2 separate regions of the Homo sapiens genome follow, and region 1 is linked to region 2. The links are contacts of gene promoters, found by promoter capture Hi-C in blood cells and fetal thymus (Javierre and others, 2016). All regions are on one chromosome and are shown on one strand. The core of a region is centred on a gene start or on the middle of the fragment in contact, and the rest is flanking DNA. Distances in the headings are between cores, read along the strand shown.

Region 1 (6,748 bases), core at 1,593-4,092, 660 kb before region 2:
CAGGTTAAGGTCGTGTTGGAGTCCACACATGCCCTCTTCTTCCCTATCCAACAAAGGCCTGAGAAACTATGGTCTTTTCCATTAATGCCCTTGGACTGGAAGGGCAGGGGTCATATATAAATTCTGTGCTAAATACTATGAATTTTTTTTCTTTTTTCAGCATGAGACAGATACTGTGAATGCTATATCCCATTTAATGCCCATAGTAAATCCTGTGCTATAATGTATTAATTAAGATGGCTTCCATTAAAAGGAGCAGAAAGCTCAACTCACTATGGGTTACTAAGTGAAGGAGATGATTGGTTTATACAATAGAAGTATGACAGGATTGAGGATGGGTCCATTTAGGAGTTCAACAACTTTATCAGGGAGTTCTATTTTCCATCACTCCACTCTGCCATTCACAATGAGAGCTTCCATCTAGGGCTTGCCCCTGTTTTAGTCTCAGAGTGGCTTTCTATTGCTGCTGAGACTGCATATGTCTCCCACTTTTATCTAGCAGGAGAAAGGGAACTTGTTTTTCTGGAAATAAGCCAGTAAACTTATGCAAACTCATTGGCCTGAATTGCTAGTGAGACCACATATGTGTCCCATTCTTATCTAGCAGGAAAAAGGAAATTTGTTTTTCTGGAAATAAGCCAATAAACTTATGCAAGCTCACTGGCCTGAATTAGGCCAGCACCCATCACTGGGTCCTGTAATAGTGGCCTTAAAATGGAATTGCACTAGGCCTGAGTCTTCAGGAGTGGAGTGGTCTATTGGGGGAGATGTGGATACCCTAACAAAAGTCATGGTAGTTACCAAGAGAAGAACAAGGGCTGGGGAGGCAACTCCAAGGCTCTCTTAGCTACATATTATCCTATTTTTCAGAGGAGAAACTGAAGCTTGGAGATGCTGCTGTGTGTAATGATAGAGCCAGGACTCTCACCCTTCCCTACACCAGGTTATCTTGAAGAAACAAACCAAAGAAAAGCCGGAATGGTCATCCCTTCACTTTCAGCCTAAAACATGTAGATAGGAAAGAGAAGCAGGGATTTCATGAGACTGGGAAAATCTCAGCCACTGTGCACCCAGGAGCTACTGAATCTACCTACTCCACAAAGCTGAGGCAGCTTTGAACCTTCACATCACCTGGAACCATGCCTAGCTCAGCAACTATTTGTAAACTGAAGAGCAGAGACTACAAAGGTATTACCCATAATGATGAGTTCTAGAGCACTGTTTCCCCAGCCCATTCTGGGTTAAATCAGAGGTGTGGGCTAGCCTGGGAACCTTGCCACACTGCATAACATTGCTCCTCCTGGGGAATGTCTTCCGAGTTCTAAAGGACAGATTTGCAAATAGACTTCTGGAGTACAGCCCCATCCACTGCTGGGAACTGCCTTTGTTTGACTTGTTTATTCAGGAGAGCTTCTCTGGACTTTCACCCAGCCGCTGCCTGGCAGGAGGTGACCTGGCTTTAGCCAACAGTGGGTGGGGACAGCAGGAGAGCAGCTTCTGCTCAGTGCTAACTGGACACAAAGCTATACCATAGGAAGGGGGAAGGGCAGAGTATTCAAAGGCCATAAGACAGCTAGTCTTTGACAAGGGACCTCATTTAAGGAGCATGAGTCTCCCTGTCTCACTTCTACCTGGTGGAAGAGTGAGACAAAATTAACTTACATGACTTGAAAGGCTTTTGCAATTTTTGAGGGCCACTGAGTATAAATTTTCCAATAAGCAGCTGTTGGCTTTTGTTCCTGCTGAGGTCTCTCACAAGGCAGCATCAGGTTTGAGTGTCATGGCCTGCCATGGCCCCACTGGCCTTGAGGGTTTCTGTGGCCTATTTTAAGCAATTTTACTGTTCATGGTCCTGGCAAACATATCCATTTTTCTGACAATATTTATAGTCTGATGTAAGTGTGAACTAGATAATGACCTTTTCAAGTCATGGCACAATGTTCTGTTTAAAGTTTTCATTTTTTTGCTCAGAACATCTGCAAGATCCTTTGACCCTTCTGCATGGTCTCTTGGAGATTTTCCTAACTTTCTGACCACTTGTGGGGATAGAGGGGTGAATGATGGGCAGACCCTTCACGTGTCTTGGGTCATGTGAGCATCTGAGCCTACAGAGAACACTCCTTTTGCTTCTGAAGCTCTTGCAGCCCGTTCTGAGAAATGTAATGCTGACCAGTTCATCTCAGGCATTTCTTTCTCTCCGGACATTATAGGATCACCCTCAAAACACGTGTGAGGGCACATACATCATCAGCTTCCCATAGTGAGTAGTTCCTAGGACTTGGATAACATTTCAAGCTTGACATGGCTAAAACAATACCATATCTGCAGTTAACTTTAGGTGACTCACCAGAAGAGCTATTTTAAACAAATTTGTAGCGACTAAGATTACATTTGTTCTATGAAAAACAGACTGAAAGGACAAAAGGCTAATGCAATATTTTTGAAACGCTCTTTTTAAGCTCAATGAAGTCCTGCTGTATTTTCTTGACAGCATCCTAGTTACCAGGCATAACAGGAGGGGCAATAACTGGTATCTAAACCACTCAAGAAACAAGCATGTCTTGACACCATCCAGCAGGAGTATATGTTCATCAGAAGACAGGTTTGTAGAAATAGTGATGGCCATGTTCATCTAGTCACCAGGGATTCTAATGTATTCCCTTTCAAAATAATATTGGTCAGGCTAGAGCTCTGGTAGCCTTGTGAAGGGTATGGTTTACCAGTCACCTGGCCTGCCTTAAGGTCATCTTCAGTTCTCCTGGCAATTACTATACTCTCTTCTCTATCCCAGAGTGCAGACACATTTCTGTATTTAGTTCAAAGAAAATCAACAGCACAAATTCATAGGGATTCCTGACAAAGCCAGAAGGTCAGAGCTAGAAGCAGATTGGGGCTTCTAGCTCTGACCTTTCAGCTGAGACAAGATTTCTAAGGGGAGAAGAATGAACAGATGTGAGGAATGGGGTGCTCTCATGCTACTCAAATGAAGCACAAAGGTAAACACCAACCTCATTATTCTCCTGAGAAGTTGCTTATTTTCCTGGGGTGGGGAACCTGGGGGCAGGCAGAACCTTCAAGGCCTGAGAACTATCAAGAGACTCTTTAGGAGGCGAGGAGAAGCTGAAACCACTATCCCAACCCAGTTCTCCTGAGTTTTCCTTCCTGCTTCGGGTTTCCCACTTCATTTCCCATTGCCGTGGCATCATGTCAGCCCCTACCTGTGAGGAGATACTGACATTTCTTTAGTGTTATACAAACTCCTTCCCTGAACTCTTCTTCACATAGCTGAGATAGGCTGGAACTTTTCCAAAGCCTTTACAAAATACTGAGGGAGAACAACGGGGACATAAACAAGAAAATACATGAAGCATAAACATGGTCAAGCTTGTGCAATATGTTAACAATCATAATATTTAGGGAATGAGACACAGAAGGGAGAAATGTTGTACATAATAACCTTGTTTGATAATTTTTAGGAACTGTATATACTTTATAAGTAATACACATTTATTTTGACATATACAGTATTAATTTTGGTCCTACCATAGCATTCTAGCTCCCATGGTTCACTCCACTTACAGACTTTCCACCTGATTAACTCTGAGACTCTTCCTTCTGTTCCTTTCTATCCCCGTCCCTCCCCAACAGGTCTCACGAACCTTCTGGGAAGAACAACGGGTGATAAGTTTGACCATTCAGTCAATAAATGTGCCAGCTATAATGCCAGACACAGTGATAAGCCATCAGTTACCTTCAATGCTTATCGATACCACTCAAATGCCTTTTCTCTTTGATAGGAGAAAAGACCAAGGGTCATTTCCTTAACACTTCTTTCTGTGTCCATCTAAAAAGTCACTTAGAATTATATGAAAACACACTTAATAGACTCAGTAATCTCTGCCAAGAAAAAGATCTTGGTTGAAAGAATTCTCAGCTACAACAATGACTGCAATCAAAAAGAACTCATTTACATACAAATGGATCTTCCCAAAGAAGGCAAAAAGGAAAATCCCACTTTCTGATTTGGAGCAGCAACAAGCCACTAATATAGTCAAGGCAAGGCAGCCTCTGTCCTCTGGATGCCTCCAATAAGATGACTAAGGGCTTTATCAAGCCCATCTAAGCTTATGACTATATTAATGCTCCAGTGCTCTTTATTTGAGCTCCGAGGAGCCACTGTTTTCCTCATCCCTCTCATCATCTAACCTGAGCTCAAGTATTCTCACCTGGGTGTGATTCAAATGGAGCTAGCCTTTACTTTCCTGGACACTCGTCTTCCTTAATCTGCCTCAGTTTCCTCAAGGAAGACAAAGATAAAACATCTGGAGACACCACAAATGAACCTCATCACAAATGAACCTCAAGCTGAGAAGAGCACTTCTGAGAGGCACTTCCAATACCACCCACTGACACCCAGCAGAGAATAGTCTGTGCTTGGGGAATTTACCTACTGCTACAGTTTTCAGACATCATTGGCCCATAAAGAAAAGACACTTAAACCTATAAGCCTCCTGGGTTTTGCTCTGGAGCCTCACTGGTCAGAGCCTTGCGTGAACTCCCTTGGAAAGTTGTCTGGGATCAAGGAGTCTGCCCTTGAGTCTCAGCAAGGGATGAGGGAGGCAGGACTTAATGGACTGAAAGAGAGAAGCCACCCATGTGGTCCAACAGTTCATCCTAGGAAATGACAGTCCAGTTGGTACACAACTACATAAACTTATATTCCAAAATCCCCCAAATTCACCACCAAGGCACTTGGCTAAGATAACCAATATACAATCAACCTAGAACCGTTTCAAGAATTTATTCCTAAAGAAACAGCAGGTGGCAGCAGAGTTTTACATTTTTTTTTTTTTTTTTTGCCCTTTGGACTGGAATGAAAACAAAGTGTCACGGAATAATCTCCTCATCTCTGAGTCAGCCAATTGGCCCAGAAACGGGCATATTGCCGTCTTGTAACGTGAAGAGTATAGCATCTTCTCAGAGTGGGCTCTGTGCACTTTGACAAGAGAATACAACATCACCCGCCACCCCCAGGCCAGAGACCTGCCTGGTTCTGTAGGCCAAGTAGGAAAATGACTGCCCCAGAATGACCAGATCACAGAGGCTGTGGCCCTGAGTTTCATATTCATTTTCCCAGTATCAAGGTGTTGCTCATTTACAATGTGGAGGCCCTCAAAGAAAACTGAGTATGATTAAGTGGAAGAATGCCTAGGAATTGAGTATACACCTCACAGCATTTTCACCATCTATTATGATATAATCCATGGCAGAAATGTAGGGGCAAAAAAAAGTGGAAAAGGGGAGTTAATAAAATCTGGTTTCTGGTGTACTTAGAGATTTAGAGATCTCTGAAAGCTGCATCACCACCCCACAGCTGCTGCAGCTTGGGCTCAGGAGCAGGCAGTGCCAAGACCACTGTCTGCTTTGGCCTCAAATACCTTCCTTGACTTAGTATTGTGCTTGGCTCCCAACTTCCAAGTTGTAGCTGGAAAGTTTCCATTGTCACAGTGTAGCACCAGAGTTGGAACCCAAGTTTTTGCTGAATTGTTTTGCAGAGCAAATCCAGTTTTGCCTTTAAGAAGTGACTGGTCAGCCGGGAGCAGTGGCTCACGCCTGTAATCCCAGCACTTTGGGAGGCCGAGGCAGGCAGATCACGAGGTAAGGAGATCAAGACCATCCTGGCTAACATGGTGAAACCCTGTCTCTACTAAAAATACAAAAAATTAGCTGGGCGTGGTGGCAGGCGCCTGTAGTCCCAGCTACTCAGGAGGCTGAGGCAGGAGAATGGCGTGAACCCGGGAGGCGGAGCTTGCAGTGAGCCGAGATTGCGCCACTGCACTCCAGCCTGGGTGACAGAGCGAGATTCCGTCTCAAAAAAAAAAAAGAAGTGACTGGTCAGTTTGTTCCATCCCAAAATGGTGATTCAGAACTCTCTCAGACACACCTTAGACTGAGATACTTTTTTTTTTTTCCCCTTAGATTAGAGAAGGAGGATTTCCTTATGTTGCCCAGGCTGGTCTTGAACCCTTGACCTCAAGCAAGGCTCCTGCCTCAGCCTACCAAAATGCTGGGATTACAGGCCTGAGCTGCCTCACCCAGGCTGAGATGTTTAATTTCCATCCAAGAGGAAACTTTCTTATCATTTAAAGTAGAAATGGAAGGATGGAAGAAGGTGGGGGTAGGGCTGGAGGAATTTTAATTGTTATTATTTTTTTTAAGTATGAAACTTGTTCAGGAAAAAGATAAAGTTAAGGACCTTGTCTCCAGGATCCCAAACAGATTTTGCAAACATATATTTGTGGGTTTTCTTTTTGGAAGTAGAGTTGACAGAAAAGTGAGTAGCTTTAACTCTGTAGCAACACAACTCCTGGTGACCAAAGAGAACATTCCTGAAGATCCAGTGGAGGTAGAAGACGTTCATTTATTTACATGACATGCAGCCTCAGCCCCAAACATGTTTTTTGTTTTCTTTTTCTGCAGAAAATATGATTTTGTTCTGACAACTTAAGGACACACTTCACAGCTCTCAGCCCAGAAAGGGTCATTTAAGATTATCTAATAAGGAAAACATTGTATAATTCCTTTGAATGTAATAAACAATATCTTTTGGAGCAACCTGCAGCAAATGTTCCAAATTTCACATCAACATTTAATTCCCCCTCTGTGCGTATGTTCTACACTCCCCAAAAAATGATGTTAAAACATTTAATGCAGTGAATTGACAGCACCAGGAAAATATTTGGGCTGT
Region 2 (7,258 bases), core at 1,715-4,214:
CATACACACAAAAAAATTAGTCAGGCATGGCAGCGGGCACCTGTAGTCCCAGCACTTTGCAGGGCCAAGGCGGGCAGATCACGAGGTCAGGAGTTTGAGACCACCCTGGCCAATATGGTGAAACCCCATCTCTACTAAAAATACAAAAATTAGCCAGGCTTGGTGGCACGTGTCTGTAGTCCCAGCTACTCAGAAGGCTGAGGCAGGAGAATCGCTTGAACCCGGGAGGCAGAGGTTGCAGTGAGCCGAGATCACACCACTGCACTCTAGCCTGGGTGACAGAGCGCAACTCCGGCTCAAAAAAAAAAAAAAAAAATTAAGAGGTCATCTGGGAATATCTGGAAAAAAAGAATAAAATTTTCTTCTCCTCTTAAGATCTTTAAAAGAGAAATGATGGTTGAAAGCAAAAAATTTAATATTGTCTGATGGGGATTTCAATGTATGTAGATTAATAAATATGACAATTACAACATAAAGCAGTGAGAGTAAAGGGACCTATATGGTGATAAGTTTTCTACATTCTCCTTAAAGTGGTAAAATATTAACTCTAAGTACACTATGAAAAGTTAGGGATGGATATTCTAACTCCTAGAGCAAGTACTAAAAAAACCTACATGAAGAAATATAGTAAAAAACTCTATTAAAATGAAATATTGGCCAGGCACAGTGGGTCACACTTGTAATCCTAGCACTTCATGAAACCAAGGAGGGCAGATCACCTGAGCTCAGGAGTTCAAGACCAGCCTGGCCAACATGGTGAAACCCCGTTTCTACTAAAAATACAAAAATTAGCTAGGTGTGGTGACGCACACCTGCAATCCCAGCTACTTGGGAGGCTGAGGCACGAGAATCTCTAGAACCTAGGAGACAGACGTTGCAGTGAGCCGAGATCACACCACCGCACTCCAGCCTGGGCAACAGGGCAAGACTGTGTCTCAGAAAAAAAAAAAACAAAAAACTAAAGCATATTCAAATAATCCCAAAGATGGAAGAAAAAGAGAGGAAAAAAAAAAAGCAGAAACCAAATTATAATAAAATGGTAGCCCTAAATCAAACCATATCAATAATTACATTAAATGTAAATGGCCTAAATATACCAATTAAAAGACAGAGATTGTCAGAATGAATAAAAAAAAAGACCCAGCTACATCTATTTATTAAAAACTTACTTTAAATAAAATGGCATAGGTAAGTTAAAAGTAAAAATAAAAGTAAAATGTAGACCTACTCATAACTCCCCCGAACTGGAAATAACACAAATTCTCACAGATGCATGGCTAAAAACTACCATACATCCATGCAATAGAATATTACTTAGCAATTTAAAAAATTATTGGTACACACAACAAAATGGATTAATCTCTAAGGCATTATGCTGGGTAAAAGAAATCAGTTTCAACAGTTACAAACTATATGACTCCATTTACATGGCACTTCGGAAAAGGTAAAACTATAGCAATTAGGAAAGATCAATGGTTGCCGACAGTTGGGGTGGAGGCAGGGCAACATCAGGGAGTTTTTTAGGATGATGGAACTGAGGAAGCCATGGTTGTGGTGATAGTTATATAAATCTATACATATGTTGAAATTTATAGAACTGTACACCAAAAGTCAATTTTACTGTATGTTAATATTTAAAAATGAAGTAAAATAAAAATTACGTGGATGATCTCCATGGACCCTTCCAGACTATGATTCTATCAGTGAGAAAAAGAAAGGAGAGGCAAAAGGAAGACAAGGAGAATGTTAAGTCCTACTGGCATAAAAGCCACTACTCAGAAGAACGGGATTACTGTACAAAAATATACAAAACAAACCCAATCTTCAGAATTTATTCCCAGAAGGGGCTAAGAAAACCGGACATTCGGATCTAAAATATGTATATTTTTAAATGCCTATGAATAGCTTTTCTTGTCTGTTTCTATATTTTTTTACTTTGAAGAAGCTGCCAATTTCTGCTGGCTTAATGCCAATTTCGCTGCTTGGGGTTACTCAATTTACAAGCATCCCTTTATTTATACCCTATACTCTAGGGTCTCCGGCAGTCACAATAACGACTCTGAAAAAGCAGTCGCTTTTGCAGGGTGCCAGAAAGATCAGCGCTCCTCACCCGGAACTAAGGTCCCTGTGGGACACAGTACACCCCGTCCACTAGTTCCAAACTTAAAAGACGCTGGGCGGAAGGTCTTCCCAAGTCAAAAAGCCTCCCAAAGGAGAAGGACCCTGGAGGCCGGGCTTCGGGGCATTTCTGCGTCTCCGGACTGCCCTGTCGCCTCCGGGGCAGCTAGCCGTTTTGAGGACTGTCCTGGTGTGGGGCTGTGGGCTGCAGAAGGTTCTGCCCAGCGACCTTGGGCAAGTCCCTTCCTCTCCTGGAGTAAGAGGAAAATTCTGGGAAGGCTGTGTAAGGGAGCTTCCCATTGCCGCCTCAGAATCCACTTTCTGCCCCCCGCTCTCCAACGCCAAGAAGGAATCACACTTGGCCCTCCAGACTTCACCCCAGCCTTATGCCCGCCACCCTTCCCAGTCCCTGGGAGACCCGCGGGAACTAACACATCCAACCGAGGGCATGGCCCGAAGGCAAGGGGGAGGCAGTAAACACCAAATCCCGGTCTCAGACCCACTCCGCCCCAAGCGGGCCTACCGGGCGCATTCCGACCCGCCCCGCCCTGCGGTCACGGCCCGCCAGGTCCCGCTTCCACCCAAGGGAAGTACAGAGCGCGCCGGGGAGGGTCGGGTGGGGGGCCGGGTCAGGAGGCGCCCACCTTGAGCTGGGACTTGGAGACCTTGCCGCTGTGGTCCTGGTCGAGTGCGGTGAAGGCGTGCCAGATGGCTTTGAGCAGCTCCTCCTTCAAGCTCCCCATGGCCGCGGCCCTGCTGCCCCGCCAACCCCTCCTGCCCAGCCAGCCCCTCCGCGCCTCGGACGCCCCTCAACCTCCGCAGCCACAGCCCGCCGCGCAGTCACCTGACCCGCCAGGCCCCGCCCCCGCCAGGCCCCGCCCTGCTGCCGGCGCCGGTCCAGTGCCGCGCCCACAGCCGCCAGAGTGTGGGTTCTGCGAGTCAAGCCACGCCTGGTGGCAAGAATGCTTGGCCTTCAGTGTCAGCCAGGACGGTAAACACATCTCCCTAATGTTTCCCAGACCAGTTCGGGCCATTTTGGGTGCTCGAGTACAACACCTCACACAAATGACCGCGTCTTGAGGAAAAACCCGAGAGATTAGGTGAGCAGCCTACCCGCCTCCTCCCAGCGCCCCGCAGTGAAAAAGGGATCCCTGGTCCTGTCCTGGGAACGGAGTCACTGTCTGAGAAGGCCAGAGAAGACCCCGAAAAGTCCCCAGACCAGGACTGAAATGATAGCGCAGTCCCAAGTCGGGGAGATGCAGGGCGGCGGGGAGGCAGGAAGGACCTCGAGGGAAGTTTGTTGGTTCATTTCGCAAAAGTTTATTCATGCATACTCTATCTTGGGTTCTAGGGACACAGCGACGACGTTTAAGGGGAGTTTAGAAGTCAGGGTCAGGCAGCATTTTCTTCCTAACGCCTAGCTGTTGTTCAATTCACATCTTAGGAGGGGTTTGACCTGGGTAATACCTCTCTGTAGTGTTTCTCTGCTTGCAGAATAGGAGATCTGGGCCAATTCCAAATCACTCCACCCATTTTACTAATCCAAAGAGATGGACCATTTAAAAGAACGTATTCGGCCAGGCGTGGTGGCTCACGCCTGTAATCCCAGCCCTTTGGGAGGCCAAGGCGGGCGGATCACCTGAGGTCGGGGGTTCGAGACCAGCCTGACCAACATGAAGAAACCCCGTCTCTACTAAAAATACAAAATTAGCCGGGCGTGGTGGCACATGCCTGTAATCTCAGCTACTCGGGAGGCTGAGGCAGGAGAATCGCTTGAACCCGGTAGGCGGAGGTTGCAGTGAACCAAGATCGCGCCATTGCACTCCAGCCTGGGCAACAAGAGTGAAACTCCGTCTCAAAAAAAAAAAAAAAAGTATTCGATTGCAGCTGTTGAATTAATATCTGTTCGCGGTGGTCACAATGGTCACTTGATCTCTTTGGGCTTCAAATTATCCCGTATAAAAAGAGCAGGGTTGCACCAGATGTTCTGGAAGGGTTCTTGCAGTACTAGCATCCTAGGATAATAACTATTGCCGGTTAACTAAGGTCTGATTAAATCGCCAGGCTCAGTACCTCTCCTCTCCAATCCTGGACTAATTGGAGAGAACAATAAACACCAAGAGTTTTTAAAATGAGGTGGTTCTCAGATGAAGTTTGGTTTTGTTTTGCTTTTTTAAGTTCCTTAATGCACATGTTTGCCTTATTAAGAAAGGAAAAGATCTTCATAAGAAAGGGATATTTGGAAAGAGAAGAACAAGAAGGAGCCTCTTCAGTGAGTTTGAGATCAAAAAGGAACTGGTGGGGAAGAGGAGAGGATGGCCCCACTGACGAAAGAAGGGGCAGGAGCAAAAGGGTGGCCAGCCCCTCACTGTGACTGTCCTGAAGGTTCTACCCCATTTCATCACCATTTGTCAGGACTTTTCTTGCCCTACCAGAATCCAATTTCTATCATTTATCTTCCCCATTTCCAGCCCAAGTCTGCCAGTCAGCAAAACCACATGGTTTAACCTCTGATTTATTCATGCGAAGTCAGCTTACCCTGAGTAGCAAAAAAAAAAAAAAAAGAAGAAGAAGAAAAAAGAAACGAAGAAAACCTCCTAATTCTCAAGGTTCAGTTTAACCACTATATGACCCTTCTTCTCTCTCAGTATCTGGAAGTACCAAACATATTTCAAAGCCTTTTTTTTATGACAAGACCAGGACATTGTGGACTTCCAAATTCCTACTTCTCCCATCATCCTCATTCATACAATCCAAACGCATTTTTTTTCTTTTTTTTTCTTTTCTTTTTTTTTTGAGACAGAGTCTCACTCTGTTGCCCAGGCTGGAGTGCAACGGTATGATCTCAGCTCACTGCAACCTCCGCCTCCCGGGTTCAAGCGATTCTCCTGCCTCAACCTCCCAAGTAGCTGGGATTACAGGCGCCAGCCACCACGCCCGGCTAATTTTTTTATTTTTAGTAGAGATGGGGTTTCGCCATGTTGGCCAGGTTGGTCTCAAACTCCCAGCCTCAAGTGAGCTGCCCTCCTTGGCCTCCCAAAGTGCTGGGATTACAGGCGTGAGCCACCATGCCCTTCCTATCCAAACAAATTTTAAAGTAGCATGATGTCATAGAAAGCGCTGTGCTTTTCCTGGGTGCAGTGGCTCCTGCCTGTAATCCCAACACTTTGAGAGACTGGGGTGGGAGGATTGCTTGAGGCCAGGAGTTCAAGACCAGCCTGGGCAATGTAGCAAAACCCCGTCTCCACAAAAAAATTGAAAATAAGAAAGAAAGAAAAGTAAAGAGTTGTGCTTCAGAATCTAACAGATTATATTAATCTAATGCTGTGTAACCAATTAACCCAAAATTTAGCAGCTTAAAACTATAGTAAACATTATTTCATATTTTCTGTAAGTCAGGAATTTAGAAGCCACTTAGCTCTATAGTTCTGGCTTGAAGTGTCTCAGGAGGTTGCAGTAAAATATAGGGCTGTAGTCATTTGAAGGCTAGGCTGATGCTGGAAAATCTATTTCCAAGGTGGTTCACTCACATGGATGGGTCGTTTACAGAAGGCCTCAGTTCCTCTGTATATGGGCCTGTCCTCAGGCTGCTTGAGTATCCTTACAACACGTCAGCTGGCTTTCAATTGATTCAAGAAAGAGAAAGATGGAAGTTGCAATGTCTCTTACGATCCACCATCAAAAGTCATTCACCATCATTTCTGCAATGCTCTACTGATTGCTCAGGTCAAATCTATTTGATTTGGGAGGGAAACTACAAAAGGATATGAGTACCAATGGGCAAGAATCATGGGGGTCATCTTGGAAGATGGCTACCACACAGATGTCGGGAAGAATCCGGGCTTCCCCATTGACTCATCTATGAGTAAATATAAGGCTTCATTTCCTCATATGTAAAATGAGAATGCTAATATTTATTTTGCAACACTTCTTTTTTCTTTTTTTAATTTTTTTTTTTTTTTTTACAGCCCAGAGGTCCTTTATTTTTTTTTTTAACACCTATTATGCCATGAATTCATAGGAAATAGGTTCCAGCAGCTCAGGCTGCTTCCCGTTGGTTCTCACAAAGTGTGCTTCTCTGGGTGGAGCAGGCTGGCGCTTTAGTTGAACCCAGGTACCTTTCTCTTTGGCGTCTTTCTTTTTCTGATCATTTTCCTTCACGTGTTTCAGGAAGCTATCTCGGCTCTTAGAGTGCTTAATGTGCTCAATACGCACCTTAATTCTCTTGGCAAGAATCTTGCCCTTAACTTGTTTGTTTACAACAATGCCAACAGCATGCTGGGTAACATTGTAGACTCTTCCAGTTTTGCCATGGTAACACTTGTGGGGCATTCCTTTTTGAGCAGTACCCATTCCCTTGATGTCTACAATATCAGCTTTCTTATAGATTCGCATATATGTGGCCAAAGGAACAACTCCATGTTTTCTAAAAGGCCTAGAGAACATATATCGGGTGCCTCTCCTCTTTCCCTTTGTGTTCGTCATTTTGGCGAATTACTGGAAGATGGCGGTTCCGGCCGAAAGGAAACTTTTTTTTTTTTTTTTTGAGACGAAGTCTTGCTGTCACCCAGGCTGGAGCGCAGTGGCTTGATCTTGGCTCACTGCAATCTCTGGCACCTGGGTTTAAGCAATTCTCCTGCCTCAGCCTCTGAAATAGCTGGGATTACAAGCGCGTGCCACCATGCCCAGCTAATTTTTGTATATTTAGTAGAGATGGGGTTTCAGCATCTTGGCCAGGCTGGTCTTGAACTCCTGACCTCGTGATCCACCCTGCCTCGGCCTCTCAAAGTGCTGGGATTACAGGCGTCAGCCACCGCACCCGGCCTCTTTTTTTAATTTTTATTTTTTTGATGAGGTCTTTCCAGATGAGATCTATTTTGCAAGACTGGTATGAAGTTTAAATGAGAGGGTAGTATGTATAAGACACAGCATCAGCATCATGGTATCTGACAGTCACTGATGTTTGTACTGTGTCAATTAGGTAAGTTGAAATCTAGTTCCTCAAATGTCCGTTCCCAATGTGGATCCAGGATAGGATTCACTACAGAAGAATTTCGTGTAAGTTTGGAAGGAGCAGGTAAGATTTATGTAAGATTTGGAAGCAGCAGCCCTTGTGTTCTGAAGGTTGATGTAAATATCA

Evidence for each region. Contacts are between HindIII fragments. The CHiCAGO score rates a contact against its expected background, and 5 or more counts as called.
Region 1: a contact is called between a fragment that was not itself captured here and the fragment with the promoter of SWAP70 in region 2, in 2 of 17 cell types (M1 macrophages and naive B cells). The highest score is 6.2, in M1 macrophages.

The regions. Positions count from the first base shown.
Region 1 is chr11:10,321,282-10,328,029 of GRCh38, reverse strand. The region is part of intron 1 of CAND1.11 (a long non-coding RNA gene); the gene reads right to left. Among named protein-coding and RNA genes, the nearest start is that of CAND1.11, 16 kb to the right of the region's middle. The HindIII fragment of the contact is 1,089 bases long and covers 2,298-3,386 here.
Region 2 is chr11:9,659,783-9,667,040 of GRCh38, reverse strand. It overlaps SWAP70 (switching B cell complex subunit SWAP70), which reads right to left and starts at 2,964. Exons shown (of 12, transcript NM_015055.4): 1 at 2,763-2,964. The coding sequence starts at 2,861. LOC124902628 (a long non-coding RNA gene) reads left to right here and starts at 6,927. Exons shown (of 2, transcript XR_007062586.1): 1 at 6,927-7,258. It also overlaps the pseudogene RPL21P97. RefSeq lists enhancers at 2,357-2,476, 3,587-3,786 and a silencer at 2,617-3,116. The HindIII fragment of the contact is 17,442 bases long and covers 1-7,258 here.